3 separate regions of the Homo sapiens genome follow, and regions 2 and 3 are each linked to region 1. The links are contacts of gene promoters, found by promoter capture Hi-C in human tissues and cell types (Jung and others, 2019). All regions are on one chromosome and are shown on one strand. The core of a region is centred on a gene start or on the middle of the fragment in contact, and the rest is flanking DNA. Distances in the headings are between cores, read along the strand shown.

Region 1 (5,169 bases), core at 1,791-4,290:
CACCCCAATCTTCAATTTTCTTAAAAAAAAAAAAAAAAGAGGTAACGACTGCATAGACTATAGCTATAAATCCATGAAGTGGGGCACTGCTTGGAAAAAGATGTGGAAACCTCAATGCACCGATTAAGAAATTTCAAAGGAAGGTTCTACACATTCAGGGGGAGAACAACTAGGCTCGGGCGGGGCCTTGGCGAAGACGGAGGTAGGACACGGACTTTGCACACCTAACACCAGGTTGAAGGTACAGAAATTTCACAGCAAGGCAGGATCACATTTAGCTGCAAGGTGGGGCGGGGTAGAGGGGGGAGCTCGAGAAGTTTCCGCTGGCAGACATGCTGTCTTAGCGGATCTTTTCACATGGGCAAGGGAAGGCTTTTAGTTCGAGGATTGTTCGGCTCAGGCGCTCACTACTGTCGCCCCTCCCCCACCTAATCCGAGCAGCAAGACATTGTCGCCGAGGTGTGTTTTCTTTTAAATCAAAGTCTTGGCCTCGGCGCCAACGGTGTTCACTCGCCGTGCATCAGACACTTCCCTTCACCCCCTTTCCAGGCCCGGTCCCTGTCCCACAGCGAGAGTCAGATAGAGGGTCCAGGAGGTTCCGGAATGGAGTGCCGGCCACAGCGGTGGGGGCCAGCCCTGGCCACAGTCCAGTTTTCCACCGGCGGAAAGAAGACGAGTTAGAAAATAAAAAATAAAAATAAAATAAAATAATTTTCCCCTCCCCCCGCCCCCAAAAGGGCCCGGTCTGCAGGTTACAGCAGAGGATTTCCCGAGAAATACTGCAGCCGGTCTCTGCTCAGTTTCTTTTCTTTCATCCTTCTGTTCTGAAACCAAATTTTCACTTGTCGGTCCGTCAGGTTCAGCATCCGGGACAGCTGCAGCCGCTTCTCTTTGTTGATATACACGTTGAAGAAAAACTCTCGCTCCAGTTCCCGGATCTGGAATTTCGAATAAGGGCAGCGCTTCTTGCGGGTGCGGGGGGCGTCTGGAGGGAGGGGAGGGGGCAAGTGCGAGGAGAGGGGGGAGAGAGACACGTGAGACCCGGGCGACCCCAGCCCGCTGAGCGCTCAGCGGCCCTTCTCCTAGCCCACCGCGGGCAGCCCTCCCGCCAGGCGGCTGGCTCTCCTGCAGCCGCAGCACCCGGGCAAGCCTCGACCCCCTGCCAGGTCTAGCGGGTCCCCACCCCCCCGCCACTGCGCCACCCCGTCCCCAGTTCTCAGGCGAGAGCCGCGGCTGACAGGGTCTGGGACAGAAGGAAAGCCCTCCAGGTACACGTGCGTCCCCTCGGGCCCCCTGTCTGCTCCCCCTCCGCCCTCGGGCCCTTCCTGGGCCGCCCTCCTAGTGGTTCGGAAAGCCCAACCCCTCCCCCAGAAATCTGGGGGGAAAGCTGAGAACAGGCGCGAAGCAGTGAAATCTGGCGAGAGCAGTCGGGAGGCGGGGAGGAAGCCGGCCAGCAGGCACCGAGACACCAGAGAGCCGCTTCCGGGGCCCTGGCGCCCCGGGAAGCCCGCGGGGCAGCGCCTTCCACACCGCAGTTCTAGGCAAGCACTAAGGCCGCGGACCCGGGAGAAACGCCCAGACCCCCGCCTGGAACGCAGTGGAGTCCTGCGCCGCCTCGCCCCATTCCCCTGTCGCCGCTGACCCCAGAGTTGCTTGGGTTTCTGCTCGAGGACCCGCGAACACATAGTTTGAACATTTTCAAAACTAGTTTTAAGAAGGATCATAGCGGTCCTGGCTTGCCTCTCCGGTCTCAGGTTCTGCTCCATTGCTCCTCTCCCCCACCTCTCCCCCTCTCTGGATCTCTCCCTGTCTTTCCCTCGCCCTCCCCTTTCTCCCCCTCCACCCCTCCCCTCCTCCCCACTCCTCGGCAGCCCGGCTCCCCATACTTCCTTAAATGCTCCTCTAAGTTCACGATCAAAGTTAATATCGCCCGCAATGGTTGCGCTTTTAAAAATTTCACAGACCGAGGGAGATAACGGGGGAGGGGGGTTCACCCGGCTTTTCCAAAGAGCCCTTTTCCCTCCCTCCCCACCCCTTCTCCATCGTAAAAAGTCGAGTCGTTGGGAGAGAGGGCTTTGTAGGTTATAATAAAATCCTTTGAATGCTTATAAAACTCCACATAAAATCGGACTGACCCAAAACACGAGGCCGTCCCCGCTCCCCTTGCCTCCCCCCTTCTCTCGCCCTCCCTCTCTCGCTCCCTCCCTCGCTGCCCGCCCGTTCCCCGGCCGCTGCTACCTACTGGGGGCGGCTCCTTTGGCCGGCTCCTTGGCCACGGAGTGGGCTGAACCGGACGAGCTGGGATTTGTGTTCTCCTCCTCAGCCTCCGCCTCGGCACCCGCCTCAGCCCGGGACGCCAGTCCCGAGGCCGGGGGTGCCTCGGGCTCCCCCTTGGCCTCGCCCTTGCCGGAGCAGGGGGGCTCGGCGGGCGGGTCGCCGCCACCGCAGTAGGCGTTGTCGAAGAAACGGTCGAAGGCTTGAGGCAGGACGCTGTTCTTGTTGACTGAGGAGTAGAAGCCGGCGGGGGTTGCGTGCGGGGCGCTGGGGTGGTGGTGGCCGCCGTAGGAGCCTTCGTTTTTCATGAGGATCTCGGTGACGGTGGAAGGAGGCAGGCACTCCCGGTGCATAAGCTCGTCGGCCGCCGCATAGCAGGAGGAGTAGCTGTTCCGATGGTGCCACTTGCCGGATGGCTCCAGGCCGTAGGAGACCTCCCGGACCGGGGGCACTTGGGCCGAGTAGGGATAGGAGATCTGACGAGAGGGGGCCTGGGGCAGGAAGGAGGAGACCGTGGAGAACTCGGGCATGTAGTAAGTGCAACTGGGCAGATAGAGGTTGGAGGCGCAGCTCCCTCGCTCGCCGAAATCTGCGCCCCTCTCCTTGCGCGACGGAGAGCAGAAGTTGCCCAGGTTGACCGAGTTAAACATCGTTCTCCTCTCCTGCCGGCTCCGGATGGAGGTTTTGGACCCGGTCTAGCGAGGGGGGAAAATTTGGGAAGGCGAGATGACGCGTTATCCGTCTTAGTCTCTCTCTCTCTGAGCACGTGATCCAAAGTAGATATTGTCATATATCAGTTCGGAGCACTTCGCAGACGTAGGAGGGGTTCTCTCTTAGGTAAGATCGGGGACGTTCAGGCGATTGGTTTGCAAACACCGCAGAAACATTATGAAAATCAATTGCAGATTTGTATTCGTTTTTCTCTCGTCACTCCCCTTCTCTCCATACCACAGCACGAGCAAAGGAGGAGAGAGAGGGTTGGGGTGGGGTGGGCGGTGGGATGGGCGAGGGTGGTGGCTGGGAAGGGGTAATTGTATTTTTTTCTAGCTGCTGCTCTTTTTTCCCCCAGGATTGGGGGAAGGAGGAGGGCTCTCATGTATGGGGGTCTTGCCTCCTCTCTGTGAGCAGCACCAGGAGGGTGGGAGTGAGGACTTCTTTCCCCACTGCCTGATTTCCCCAGAGAAGTGAATCCTTTCCCTTAAATCTCAGGGACTCTTACCCTTCCAACCCGCAGAGACACCGCCTGTTCACAAGAGTTTGAAGAAGTCCACTCTTTTCCTGGCCAGAGCTGGGTGTCAAGACTACCTTTCTGGAGTCCTTAGAGAGACTCCCGGAAGAGTATCTGAAGTTTCCCAAAGGTGAGGCAGCCCAGCTGCAAGCCAGTGTCCCAACTTTGTCTGGCTTGCTGTGCTGCCCCTGGCTAGGGAGTCAGATTAGTCATAAACGAGTGGTGAGCAGTGCGCCAGCCGCCCAGCCGGTGCCTGGCGAAGTCTGGGAAAAACCTTCTCTAATGTTGTGTTAAATATTTAGTATGAGAGAGTGGCCCTGGGTGAATATTTCATGCCTGCCTTTATTGTCAATCAATGTGAAGAAAGCTACATCCACTGTGGATTTTCAAATCCCAAACCCCAAAGAAAAGGATTGGAATGAGAGCCATGTATCTTCTATGTCAGGGCCCTTTGGCTTAGTGGCTCAGCCTCAGCTAGTGCGCTGAAAAGAAGCCTAGTGTAGGGGTCCAGGAAGAATATGGTGGGGGGGACTAGGTTTGGGGTTCTTATCCTTGGATGATTTTGAGGACTGTAAGGTGGGTGGTGGGGCCAGGTATGGGTCTCCAGAAGAGACTAACCAGACAGTGGAAAGGAGCGGTGGATGCTGTGGCATCAGGGGAGGCCCAGCGGCCACTCCCTAGTCAAAGCCCCCAGCCTCTGTCCCTGGGGCTGTGACCAGATCTTAGTGCCTCCTTCCTATTTCTCAGCCCTGTCCTGCCCTCCTACAAGTCTGTCAGCCTCCTGGATAGCTGTAGCCCAAGAAGTAGGCTCAGTCATTCTGCATCCCCAACCCCTTGCCTTCCATCCCTCTGAGCACCACAGGACACATGTGGGCATCTGAAAATCACTTTATTGAAAGGTTCTGGACTGGGTCCAAGGGGCCAAAAGCAACCAGCATGAGCTGAAAGCAACCTTGGATCCAAAGAGGAGCTGCCAGGGCACAATTTGTTTGGGAAGGAGGGGAAGAACCGAAGCCCCCAAGGGCTCAGCCCAATGCACACTCAGGGGAAAACAAAAAATAGCCCGAACTCTCTTTACATCCATAACCCTCAGTTAAAATTAGTTTCCACTTAAAGAAATTAGAATGGATTTGTCTTGATGAAACATGATAAGGTGCTGCGGCTCCCAAACCAGATAAGGAGGACACAAAAAATTGTAGCTTGTCTCCATATGTAACCCCTAAAATCCATTCCTCCTCAATGCTCCTGCCTCCTCAAACTTGCTCAGCATTTAAGTGACACCTGAGTGGAGTCTGCCTCCACCATGGGTCCCATTCTCAGGGTGGTTCTGGAATACTCAGGGATAGGTCTCAGGTGCCCCTCTACGCACTCAATGCTGGGCGCTACTCCTTTAGTTCTGGTCAGATCTTAAACTGAAGCAAAGAAGAACTAGATTGGGGCTTTGCTGAAGTGTGAGACTTCTGTTGGTAAGGGGCCATGAAAAGAAAAATCTGCTGTGTTTCCTTTTTCCTCTAGCCCTTTTTATAGAGTGAGATGGGGCCAGCATTTTTAATTATAGTGGTGGGGAACTATGGACTATGGCTTTTAATGGGGTTCACACTGACCTCATTAAACTCGAGTTTATTGAAGGCAAAATGCTGCCCAAACAGTGATAGGAACCAGCAAGA
Region 2 (5,169 bases), core at 1,668-4,167, 250 kb after region 1:
TGGTACCATTCTGGCTCACTGCAACCTCTGCCTCCTGGGTTCAAGCGATTCTCCTGCCTCAGCCTCCCAAGTAGCCGGGATTACAGGCACGCGCCACCATACCTGGCTAATTTTTGTATTTTTGGTAGAGATGGGGTTTCACCAGTTGGCCAGGCTGGTCTTGAACTCCTGACCTCAAGTGATCCGCCCACCTTGGCCTCCCAAAGTGCTGGGATTACAGGAGCAAGCTACCACGCCTGGCCTCCAACTGTAGCTTTTATTCAGCTTTGCTGCAATCACAACCTACCCCAAAATCTAAGCGACTCACAACAACCAGTGCTGGCTTCTGATTTATGTATATGCAGGTTGTGGGTAAGCAGTAGCTCAGCTCCACAGGTCTTCTCATTCCCAGGCCCAGGCAGAAGGAGCAACTCTCATGTGGATTATTCCCATTCTAGTGGCAGAGAAGAACAAGAAAGTGGAAACTCATGTGTTCAAACATGGCATGAGTCACATCTGTTCACATCCCATCAGCCAAATTATGAAACATGACAAAGCCCAAAGTCAATGACATGAGACATCTATTCCTTCTACAGGAGATACTGCAAGTCACATGGCAGTGGGCAGGAATGAGAGAGGAAATAATTTCAAACAATTAGTCCATCCACTACAACTGCCATTTTCCATCTGGAGTACATGGCAGACATTACTACCCAGCACTCTTTCCTCAGAATCCTCAACACAACATTTCAGGCAGACATTACCAATAATCTGAGTTTGCCTAAATACATAAATAAAGGTTGAAATTGATGTGCTATTATGTGACTCTAGGCTCATTATCCATTCCCACCTCCAAATCTTTGCTTTGGCCTAGAAGAAGCTTACCCTCCCCAGTCCCCATCTTGCCAAACTATCCAAATTTAATCTATCCTTCAAATACTTGAATATTTGAAAGTAATGACTATAATTAAAATAATGAATTACATTTATTATTTTAAAATAATGAATTACATATATTATTTTAAAATAATGAATATTTACTATTCATTCTTTCAATAAAAGTAACTGAATACCTAGCATAGTACCTGCCACATATTTGTTGAATGAATCTGTTTCACATTACTTTGTGCCTTGCACTGAGCACATAAATGCTCAGTGAACATTTGTCTCCTGTTAATGAACCAGCACTGTTCCTTAGAACAATGGGAGTTAGTATCACATGCCAGAGTTTCTGGACTGGGAGTATGGTGACTGCTTGTGCTTAAATCTTGATTCTGCCACTCACTAGCTGGATGACTCCAGGCAAGTCATTAATTGTGCCTCAATCTCATCATGTGTAAAATGGGGATAATAACAAGGCGTATTACATAAGCCTGTTGTATTAAATGGGAAAATTCTTAGCATAGTTTGAACAGATCATAAGCACCCAAGAAATGGAAGTTGTTACCATTTTTAGCTCCGAGACTGTTTTCTCGTAGACCTTTATTTTGGGCGGAAGACAAGAGCCAAGAACTCTTGAGACTTGGGTCCTTGAACAGACCTCACTCTTAACCCACTCCAGACCTTGAGCTACCTCCTCATCCAGAAACTGGTTCCCTAACTCATAAATCCTGACTAATGACACAGACACATCACCTTAATGTTTGTGCAGCCCAGTAACTAATTTTTAAGTGCCTGGAGATCTTCAGATGAAAGACACTGAGGGCAGACACCGCATTCAGTCATAAAAGCAAAACACTACCAAAAAACTTGGAAAAGGCAGAAGCTCCATAACTTAGTGCAGTAGAGAATTAAAGCAGGCACCTAGGAAGAGGAAATCAATCCTTAAGACTGTAATCCTTTAATGCAGAGCCAGAGAAAGAGGTAATTCTGAATGCCTCCGACTACAGGGATGGAGAATAGCGAGAGGGGGGACAGGATGCCCAAGTCTATAACGTGACTTGGGGTGTGGGAGACGTGTCAATCTTTCACCTCTCCTAAATAAAAACCGGAACGTCAACATGTATTGTTATCCTAATTAATTTAAGCCACTTAAAAGGCTTGGGCAAACAGGCCCCATAAGTGGCTTGTTTGTGAATTGTGACAGGTCCTGAATTATGCCAAGCTCCCTTTTCAATTTCATTCTTCTCATTCCACCGCTCCTACCACCACCTCAGTCAATTGTATCCTCTTCCTAGACCCAGAAGCCACTCTGGGGGAGCCCAGTCCAGATGTGGATATGGTCAGGCCCCTTAGCACTGAAATCCTCAAGTTGGAAAAAAATGGTCAGCTGTGCAGAAGACATCATTCTTACAAGGTCTGTCCCTGAGATTGAAGTAAAGAAGAAACTGCTATACCCCAGCTATCAGTTTCCCATCCCCAAAATGGTGGGTAGCTGTGGTGTAGTGGCAAGAATATATGACGTGGAATTAGCCAAGGCTAATGCAGTTCTACATTTCATAGCTTTGACACTTCACACCGCCTCCTTAACCGTACTTCACTTTCTACATCTATAAAGCGTGCATAACGCTTAACGCCTATCTCACAGGTGGGTGCGAAAAGTACAGGACGGGACGCAACAGAAACCGCTCTGCCCACCGTTAAAGCGTTATATGGAAGGCTTTAGAGCCGTAAATCCTCCCCAGCCCCCAACAACGCACGTTACAAACCAGCAGCCACCCCTAATGCAGCCGGCCCCCTCCTAAGGGATCATGGGCCTTGAAGTCCTTTGCTGGCCACACCCTCGTTTTCTGTCATAGGAGTGAGAACTACGCCTCCCAGGATGCCGCGGTGAGGCCGCCGTCACGGACGCCCTCTTCCCCGCCCTCCTTGCGCGCAGCCTTCTGGGATGTATAGTCCTAGATCCGAGCACGCAGCGGCAAAAGGGCGCAGAAGAACCACAAACCCCAGAAGCCCTCGCGCCCACTCTTCTCCCTCCCCTCCAGAAGTCGGAGTGCTGTTTTTGTTGTTGGTGAAAGGTGAGGGGAACAGCTGATCCGTCTGTTGGGTAAGAAACTTGGCCTAATTGGGGGCGATCTTATGGGAGGGGAGGGTCACCCCACTTTCCAGTTTGGGGAAGGATAACGTAAGGGAACTGTCGAAGGGGAATACAGGAGCGTTTGGGTTGTAACCCTTTCCGTACTGGAGAAGCCACCCCCGCTGTTTGGGGAGTTCTTGGTTTCAAGGGGACTCTGATTGGGGGTGGGGGGCGCCCCCTCGTCGTCCTCTCCTTCTTCTCAATGCGTCTCTATAAAGCTGATCCCTTCAAGGGAGCTGAAATCTGCTTATTCGCTCCCAGGCAAGACGTGTCCCCTACACGTCTTCCCTCTCTCCCCTACGCAAATCCAAAGGCCTTTACGACGCTGAATCCCTGGGGAGGAAGGGGGACCTTCCAAGGTGTAGAATGTCAAGGAACTCTAGAGCCCTACAGAGTAGGGGATGGGACACCCGCTCTCCGCCCCATCATGTGAACATCTGAATCAGGCTACACACCTACATCTTAGGTGCCCAAAACTTTCTTTCGGACATGAAGAACGTTTACAGCTGTTACGGATTTTCTTTGTGGGGTGTATTTTAGGGTTCTCCAGGTATATCTTTGGGGACAATTTACCCCCACCCTTAGAAAGCTGGAAGAATTGCATTTGGAGAAAACATGGATTAGTTTCAACCAGGAATTTTTCAGGGAGATGAACATTAAAAAAAACTTTTTGTTCTACCTATTTGGGGGACAGAAGTTGCTCCTTTTTGTGTTGCTGGCTCACCTTTATCCACTGAGTTTCTGTTTTCTTTTAAAGTTCCTGTCCCCTGGACTTCAGCCTGGTGTGGGTTTGTGATGTTTGGGGGCGTGCATATGACTAGTGACAATGGCTGGTTGGACATGTCAGCTGTGAGTGACACAGGAAATAGATTAGTGGGCTGGAAAGGAGTGATGAATAAGAGGGCCATCTCACAGCCCTGGACTGAGGAGTTCTTTTGATCGTTATTATTGTTATCTGTCCTCACCCCACCCTCATATTTTCCAATTAACTCTCCCCAGCTAACTTGGAACACCCCTTCCTCTCAACCCCATCCTGTAGTGTGTCTCCAGCTACCAATACAAACAGATGGAAGGATGGAGGCTGAGGGGAGCAGAGAGAAAATGAGGAGAGAAATACTAAAGTGAAACCAGTAGGTTTCTAGTCCTGCTGCAGGCACAGTCTGGAGAGAAGAATGTTAGGTTCTTTTTGAACTATCTCCCCTTTCCTCAACGTTAAATATACATTTCCACTTCTTGGGGCCCCTTACTTCCCACTTTCTAGTCTGTTCCCTGCCCTGGGGTGGGGCTTTCCTGGCTCCAGGCCCCCACATTCCATCTCCCCACCCCCACCACGTTCCTGCTAAGCGCCTCACTCCACCCTTGAAGTTGCCGCCTCCAGAATTCTTGACTTCCTGGAATAATAAGTCAAGGGACAGAACCTGTCTTTCCTTATATCCTCCCCTTCCCTTTGTCTCTTGGATGCCAGCAGAAGCTTTCTGCTTCCCTAGAATTCATGGGGGTAGGCAGCTCAGAGAGATGAAAAGAGCTGAGAGCTCAGGAGCCTAAGGATTTGGGCTCAGTTCCCCTCGACCCCCAGCCATATTCTAGCTCTGAAAACTCAACCATTCCTTTCAGAGATTAGTTGCTGCTTTCTGATGTCATAACTCATTCCTGGATACAGCTGGGTCAACAAGCTTAGGAGTAGGTAAGGACACCTCTCTCAATGAGAGGGCCCCACACCTCAGTTGGATTTTGTATTCAAGAGCCAGGATGTGTGGGAGATGGGATGGAGAAATGGAGGCTGTCGACCAAGTCGCAGTATCCCAGGCTCTGTCCCCGTCAGTGTCCTTTTGGGAGCAAAATTAGAGAAGTCTGAACCCTCAGAAGGGTCTATGAGCCAGAGCGGGTACAGTGTGAGACAGGATGGGGACGGACTTGGAAGGCCAGACCTACGTCCTAGAGACTAAGAGTGATACCTCAAAAATGTCCCGTAACCCTCAGGGACTAGAAACCAGGTATGCCTTATCTCCAGGTGTAGTGGCAGGGGCTGTGAGTGTGTGGTGCTGGAGCTGTGGGGGGAAGGAGGTGGACTGGAAAGACTTTAGGCTATCAACCCTTTCTTTCATAGGAGGACAGATATCTCAAGGCCAGGATGGAAGAATCACCACTAAGCCGGGCACCATCCCGTGGTGGAG
Region 3 (5,169 bases), core at 1,890-4,389, 170 kb before region 1:
ACAACTTCTCCCCAGGGGCCCCTGGGAGAGACTTTGGCAGTGCCTTTTGTTGGAAGTCTTTAAAAACTGGACCGGAACAAGGAGACCCCTGCCCAGAGTTGGTGAGCTGGACAACATGACCCCTACCCTCTTGAGCCACGGCCCCTGTTCTGCTGGAGAAAGCCCTGCAGAGGAGGTCATCCGTGGCCTCCTTTTGGGCTCTGTTCCAGGCCCCCGGCCCACGTGTCCCCTGCCCTCTGTGGGCTTCTGGGTATGGGTGAGTGGCAGAGGGGTAAGGAGAGCCTTCTTGGCTTGCGGCGTATGGAGAGAAGACGTCCCAGGGAATCCTCGCTCCTGATTTAAGCAGCTCCGACAGCTTTATGGTGCCTCCTCGAGTGAGCCCCCAGCGTTGGCTGTTTAACTTTTTAGCGTCGTTTAACGCTTAGACTCTGGTGGACAGGCAGGCCCCAAGGCCCCAGAGGCAGCGGCACTAAATCAGGACACTCTGAGGCCCCGATAAATAATTTTTACAGGGCACGCAGCCCATAGATCACCAGTGGGGGTGGGGGGAGAGTGGCTGTGATATTTCAACCAATTGTCATATGTGACTGCCCCGTGCTCTGACTCCAGGTCGCCCACATGGCAGCCGGCTTCATAACCACAGCCAGCTCTGGGGCTCTTCACTGTGGGGCATGGGAGAGGAGTAGGAGATGGGGCCTTTGATAACCCCAGCCAGCAGATGACCCGTTGCCTCCCCGGGAATGATGTTAAGGTCTGCTCAACTTGCTGTTGTCCATAGAGCATGGGTGCTCAATCCAAGCCTCCTCTGGCACTGGGAGAAGGGACAGCTGAAGGCACGAGGGCAGGGTGGCAGAGAGGAACACAAATAACTTTCTGTAGCCAAAAAGTCACTTTTCTGACCACCTTCCCTGTTCTGTTGACCACCTCCAAACTTGTGGTCTGTGTGAGAGAACAGTACAGAGGGAGGGAGGCATCAGACCTGACCCCAGGAGAGGAGGGCAGAGCTAAGGCTGACGTTCAGAGAAACTGGCAGCATCCCTCTACCATTTATACCTCTAGAGAAAGAGATGGAAAGTGTGGGAGTGTGGAAAGCGGGGGAATGTGGAAGGAGAGAGACAGAAACACAGAGAAGGCTAGGTAGTGAGAGGGACAGAAAAATGAAGATGAAAGACAGATGAAGATGTAGAGAGAACAAGAGACAGAGGCAAGAGGAGACAGACCAAAACGGACTCAGAAAGGACACTCCAACAGTTGGTTTGGTGTGGAGAAGGAGGCCTTTTCCTAAAGCTTGGTACCAAGCAAGAGGAACAGTGGTATCAACAGACCAAGGCAGGGGTTGCATCTGTGCCAGGCTGACCTGCCCCATGCCCTCTGAGGGTGCCCTTCCCCTGGCTTCAGGACCGTGTTTCCCTGCACCAGCTCCACGCTGCTTCCCCACTCTCTCCCCTCCCCTCAGTGCCCTTGCCCCATCCCCTCATCTGTAAGATCTGGGATTTGCGGGGACACTTAATCCATATGGAGCTGATTCATTCCCATCTAAATCATCTCCATGAGCTTCCCTAAGAGCCCTCTGATGTGCCAGCCACCATTCCTCTCCCCTGGGCGATGGCGGGCTGGGGGCTGCCAGTAAACAAACCTCAGCTGCCATCCATCCATCTTGGCCTCGCCCATCAGTCCAGCCAAGACCATTCATCTCTCCAGCACTGCTCCCTGCACTCCTCCATCCCTCCATCCATCTGTCTGTCCCTCCTTCTCATGCCCCTCTACTGGAAACTTTACCTCTCTGCCTTTTCCTGGGTAGCATCTTGAGGGGTCATCTCAACCATCCCCCTGCCTTCAGACAGGAGCCTTATTTTACCCCTGGCCCAGCAAGGCGGGGGCTCTCCCAGTTCATCACCTTCCGAGAATGAGGGCTTCGAGTCTGATGATTTTACTCTACAGTACTGACAACCTAGGGAAGTTCTTTCTTCTGTCTAGCTTGTGTGCTTGACATTCACATATGACCACACGTCTGAATGGGAGTGGGTATAAGATTATAGGATTATACTCAAGCATGAGAGTCTCCAGTATTTGTAATATGTACCTCTCTGGCTTAACATGGTATGTAGAGCTCAAGACCAGTGAAATGGGCCTTTCCTCCAGTCTCCCCCAGCAGAGTCTGGCCCAGTGCCAAGCACGCAGTGGGCGTTCGGTGTTGATTGCTTTCTGGCCATCTTCTTATTTGCCAGTGCCAATGAGTCCAGTGGTCTCACATACATCCTGGGGGGGGTTTTGGTGGGATGACTCTGTGGATCTGATACAGGGCAGATTATGGCACCTCTAGCCTGGCAGGGTTTGCAGTAAACACTAAGGAAATGTCTCTTACCTCTATTCTCCCACTCAAATTTCTTTTTTTTTTTTTTTTTTTTTGAGACAGAGTCTCGATCTGTCGCCCAGGCTGGAGTGCAGTGGTGCGATCTCGATTCACTGCAACCTCCACCTCCAGGGTTCACTCCATTCTCCTGCCTCAGCCTCCCGAGTAGCTGGGACTACAGGCGCTCACCACAACGCCCGGCTTATTTTTTGTATTTTTGGTAAAGATGGGGTTTCACCATGTTAGCCAGGATGGTCTCGATCTCCTGACCTCGTGATCCACCCTCCTCGGCCTCCCAAAGTGCTGGGATTACAGGCGTGAGCCACCACGCCCGGCCTATCCCACCCAAATTTCTTAACGCAGGCCTGGGGTAGAGCTTGCCTCAACAACTCGCTCTCGGTAATTGTGGGGCTGAAGAGAGGGAGGACGAACAGGAGGGGCAGCAGGTGCTGGTGGGGCCTTCCATGGCACTGAAGCAGAACCCTCGCATTTGGGGGAAACCCTTATGTTTACCTGCACTAATCAGGAGAGTGCATGGAGGGCGCCGCTGTCCCCTGCCCCAGCCTTAGCATTATGGCCCTTCCCTTTTCAGCCTCTTCACCTCATCCTGGGAGGGGTGACTCTGAGAAAGGGGCTTCTGCAAGTCCCTAAGGAGAGAAGACGGGAGCAGGTCTTTGGGTCCCACCTCAGCGTCTCCATGCGCAGCACCACTGGAAGTTGGGGAACAGGGAACAGGTCTGTCTGTCTGTCTCTGGTCAGTAGAGAATTTTGGTCAGGCTCTAGTAACCCTGCAGAGGGATAAAGTGGGTATGGGGGGTGGAGGTGGAGTTACAGGGAGAGATGAGGGCAGTACTTGTGACAGGTGTGTCCTTCCCTGGATCCAGTCATGAAGAGTGGGAGGGAGAGAGGAGAGGGAGGGGAAACATGAACTTTCACGTGCCCTGAGAGAGCTGGTGTTTCACCACTGCCAGCCGCTCCCCGAGACCTGGGATGCCTTGTTGAGCATCTGCCCTGCTCCCAGACCAGACTAGACCAGGCAGGGAATCCCGATGCATGCTTCTCCCCTGTCCCCACACTAACTCCCACTCCCTTTCCCCTTGTTGCTGGTCCCCTGCATGGAGTCACTGTGAGTACACAGGATAGGTGAGGCTCTACAGCTGTTATTGAGTTGTGAGGATCCTTGACCTTGTCCCTCTCACTCCCCTACAGGGAGAGGAGGCTCTAATTGTAGTCAGAAAGATAAGAAGGGTGTCTTGGAGAGGAGAGGGGCTGGGGGGGCCGTGGGGAAGCTAACCACTTGCCCCAGTCGTGTGAAGGTAAGTGTGGGAGGGGAGGGGCCTGCAGGTAGCAAGGCCCAACTTAAGAATGATGAGGTGCTTCTTAGTTCTCTGAGCTATAGACATGTGAAGTATGTAAGACCATGCGAAAGGATAAATTATCACCTAAGGAGGAGAGGACATGGGGGAATAAGAAAAAATTCAAGCCAGGGAGACCCAATGCTACCACCCCCATCACCATCATGACCTGATCCATCTGTGCTGGACTGGATTAAAGTCCATAGGGAGGGGGAGGCCTGAGAACTGGCCCTGAGGTCTTCAGAGGAAAAGCTGATCCCCCACCGTGCATTTGCTTGATGTTACACAGAGCAAGGGGGAGCTGGGAACAGCTGCTCAAATTCTTCAGGTGGGGCAGCCACGGGGAGCTCCCCATCCTCCTTCTTCCTTCCTTGCACCCACCTCTCTCCAACCCCTCCTTCTACCTAGTCCGCTGAGGAACAGTGCCCTCTTCTCCCATTGGCCCGCCTCTCGTGGTTGTCCCCAGCCTCTTGGGCTAGGCCCTCCTCACCCACTCAGTGGCTCCTAACCTCTCTTGTCTCCTCTGAAACTCCTCTTCCTGCAAGAAGCATCCCAGGCTGCTTCTCCCCTCCCCCCAAAAAAAGCCCACTTACCCAGACTTGCAGCTGATGAAAATCCTTTAGGATCCACTCGTGGGCTGCTGCCTTGGGTCCTGCAGGGTCTGGAGATTCCTTTGTTTGTCTGTCCTCTATTGCTCAACATCCACATGTCCAATTTAGGCTGGGATTCCCACAATACAAGTGAGGAGCCAAGTCTTTTTTTTTTTTTTTTGAGATGGAGTCTCGCTCTGTTGCCCAGGCTGGAGTGCAGTTGTGTGATCTCTGCTCACCGCAAGCTCTGCCTCCCCGGGTTCACGCCATTCTCCTGCCACAGCCTCCCGAGTAGCTGGGACTACAGGCGTCTGCCAGGATGCCCAGTTAATTTTTTGTATTTTTATTAGAGATGGGGTTTCATCGTGTTAGCCAGGATGGTCTCGATCTTCTGCTCTCGTGATTCCCGCAAAGTGCTGGGATTACAAGCGTGAGCCACTGTGCCTGGCCGAGCCTGGGGTTTTAAAATCTATTTGACAGCCCTTCTTCTGACATCATGAGGCAGAAATGTCTTGAGGAATGCTGGGAGGTCTTAGACGACCAATGAGCGGGACTGGTACACTTTCCCCCAGGGAAGCCACCTCATGCTACAGCAAGTAGTGACAGAGGCTAGACAATGGGAAGAACTGTAATCTCTTAAAATTGAAGGAAAGATTTCCAGGGTTTCACTGAAGACCTTGAGGAGGAATGACTTTAATCTTTTCAAGCTCTGAGGGAGCAGAGAGGCCTGGGAGTCTGGAAAAGTTTCTGTCCACTCTTGCAGAACTGACTCAAAGAGGGACGGCCACTTTCTTTTTCAAGAGCCCTGACTCATCCACGTTCAGTCCAATTCCACTCACAATTTCTTAGATAATTGTTTCTTTCTTAGACA

The links. The method cuts DNA at HindIII sites, captures the fragments that hold promoters and counts their contacts. A contact is called where the count stands out against the background at its distance.
Region 2: the fragment with the promoter of CALCOCO1 here is called in contact with the fragment with the promoter of HOXC11 in region 1 in 1 of the 25 tissues and cell types used here (neural progenitor cells).
Region 3: a contact is called between a fragment that was not itself captured here and the fragment with the promoter of HOXC11 in region 1, in 1 of the 25 tissues and cell types used here (neural progenitor cells).

What each region holds. Positions count from the first base shown.
Region 1 is chr12:53,970,997-53,976,165 of GRCh38, reverse strand. HOXC11 (homeobox C11) reads right to left here and starts at 3,040. Exons shown (of 2, transcript NM_014212.4): 1 at 2,243-3,040; 2 at 1-985. The coding sequence starts at 2,924. The coding sequence ends at 753. It overlaps HOTAIR (HOX transcript antisense RNA), which reads left to right and starts at 1,212. Exons shown (of 7, transcript NR_186241.1): 1 at 1,212-1,268. RefSeq lists enhancers at 740-889, 1,220-1,814. The HindIII fragment of the contact is 16,724 bases long and covers 1-5,169 here.
Region 2 is chr12:53,725,200-53,730,368 of GRCh38, reverse strand. CALCOCO1 (calcium binding and coiled-coil domain 1) reads left to right here and starts at 2,917. Exons shown (of 15, transcript NM_020898.3): 1 at 2,917-2,965; 2 at 5,103-5,169. The coding sequence starts at 5,127. LOC105369774 (a long non-coding RNA gene) reads right to left here and starts at 3,790. Exons shown (of 3, transcript XR_944973.3): 1 at 3,720-3,790; 2 at 287-433. RefSeq lists enhancers at 2,765-2,824, 4,142-5,169. The HindIII fragment of the contact is 5,999 bases long and covers 138-5,169 here.
Region 3 is chr12:54,141,954-54,147,122 of GRCh38, reverse strand. It overlaps SMUG1-AS1 (SMUG1 antisense RNA 1), which reads right to left and starts at 4,521. Exons shown (of 2, transcript XR_007063322.1): 1 at 4,302-4,521. The HindIII fragment of the contact is 5,217 bases long and covers 531-5,169 here.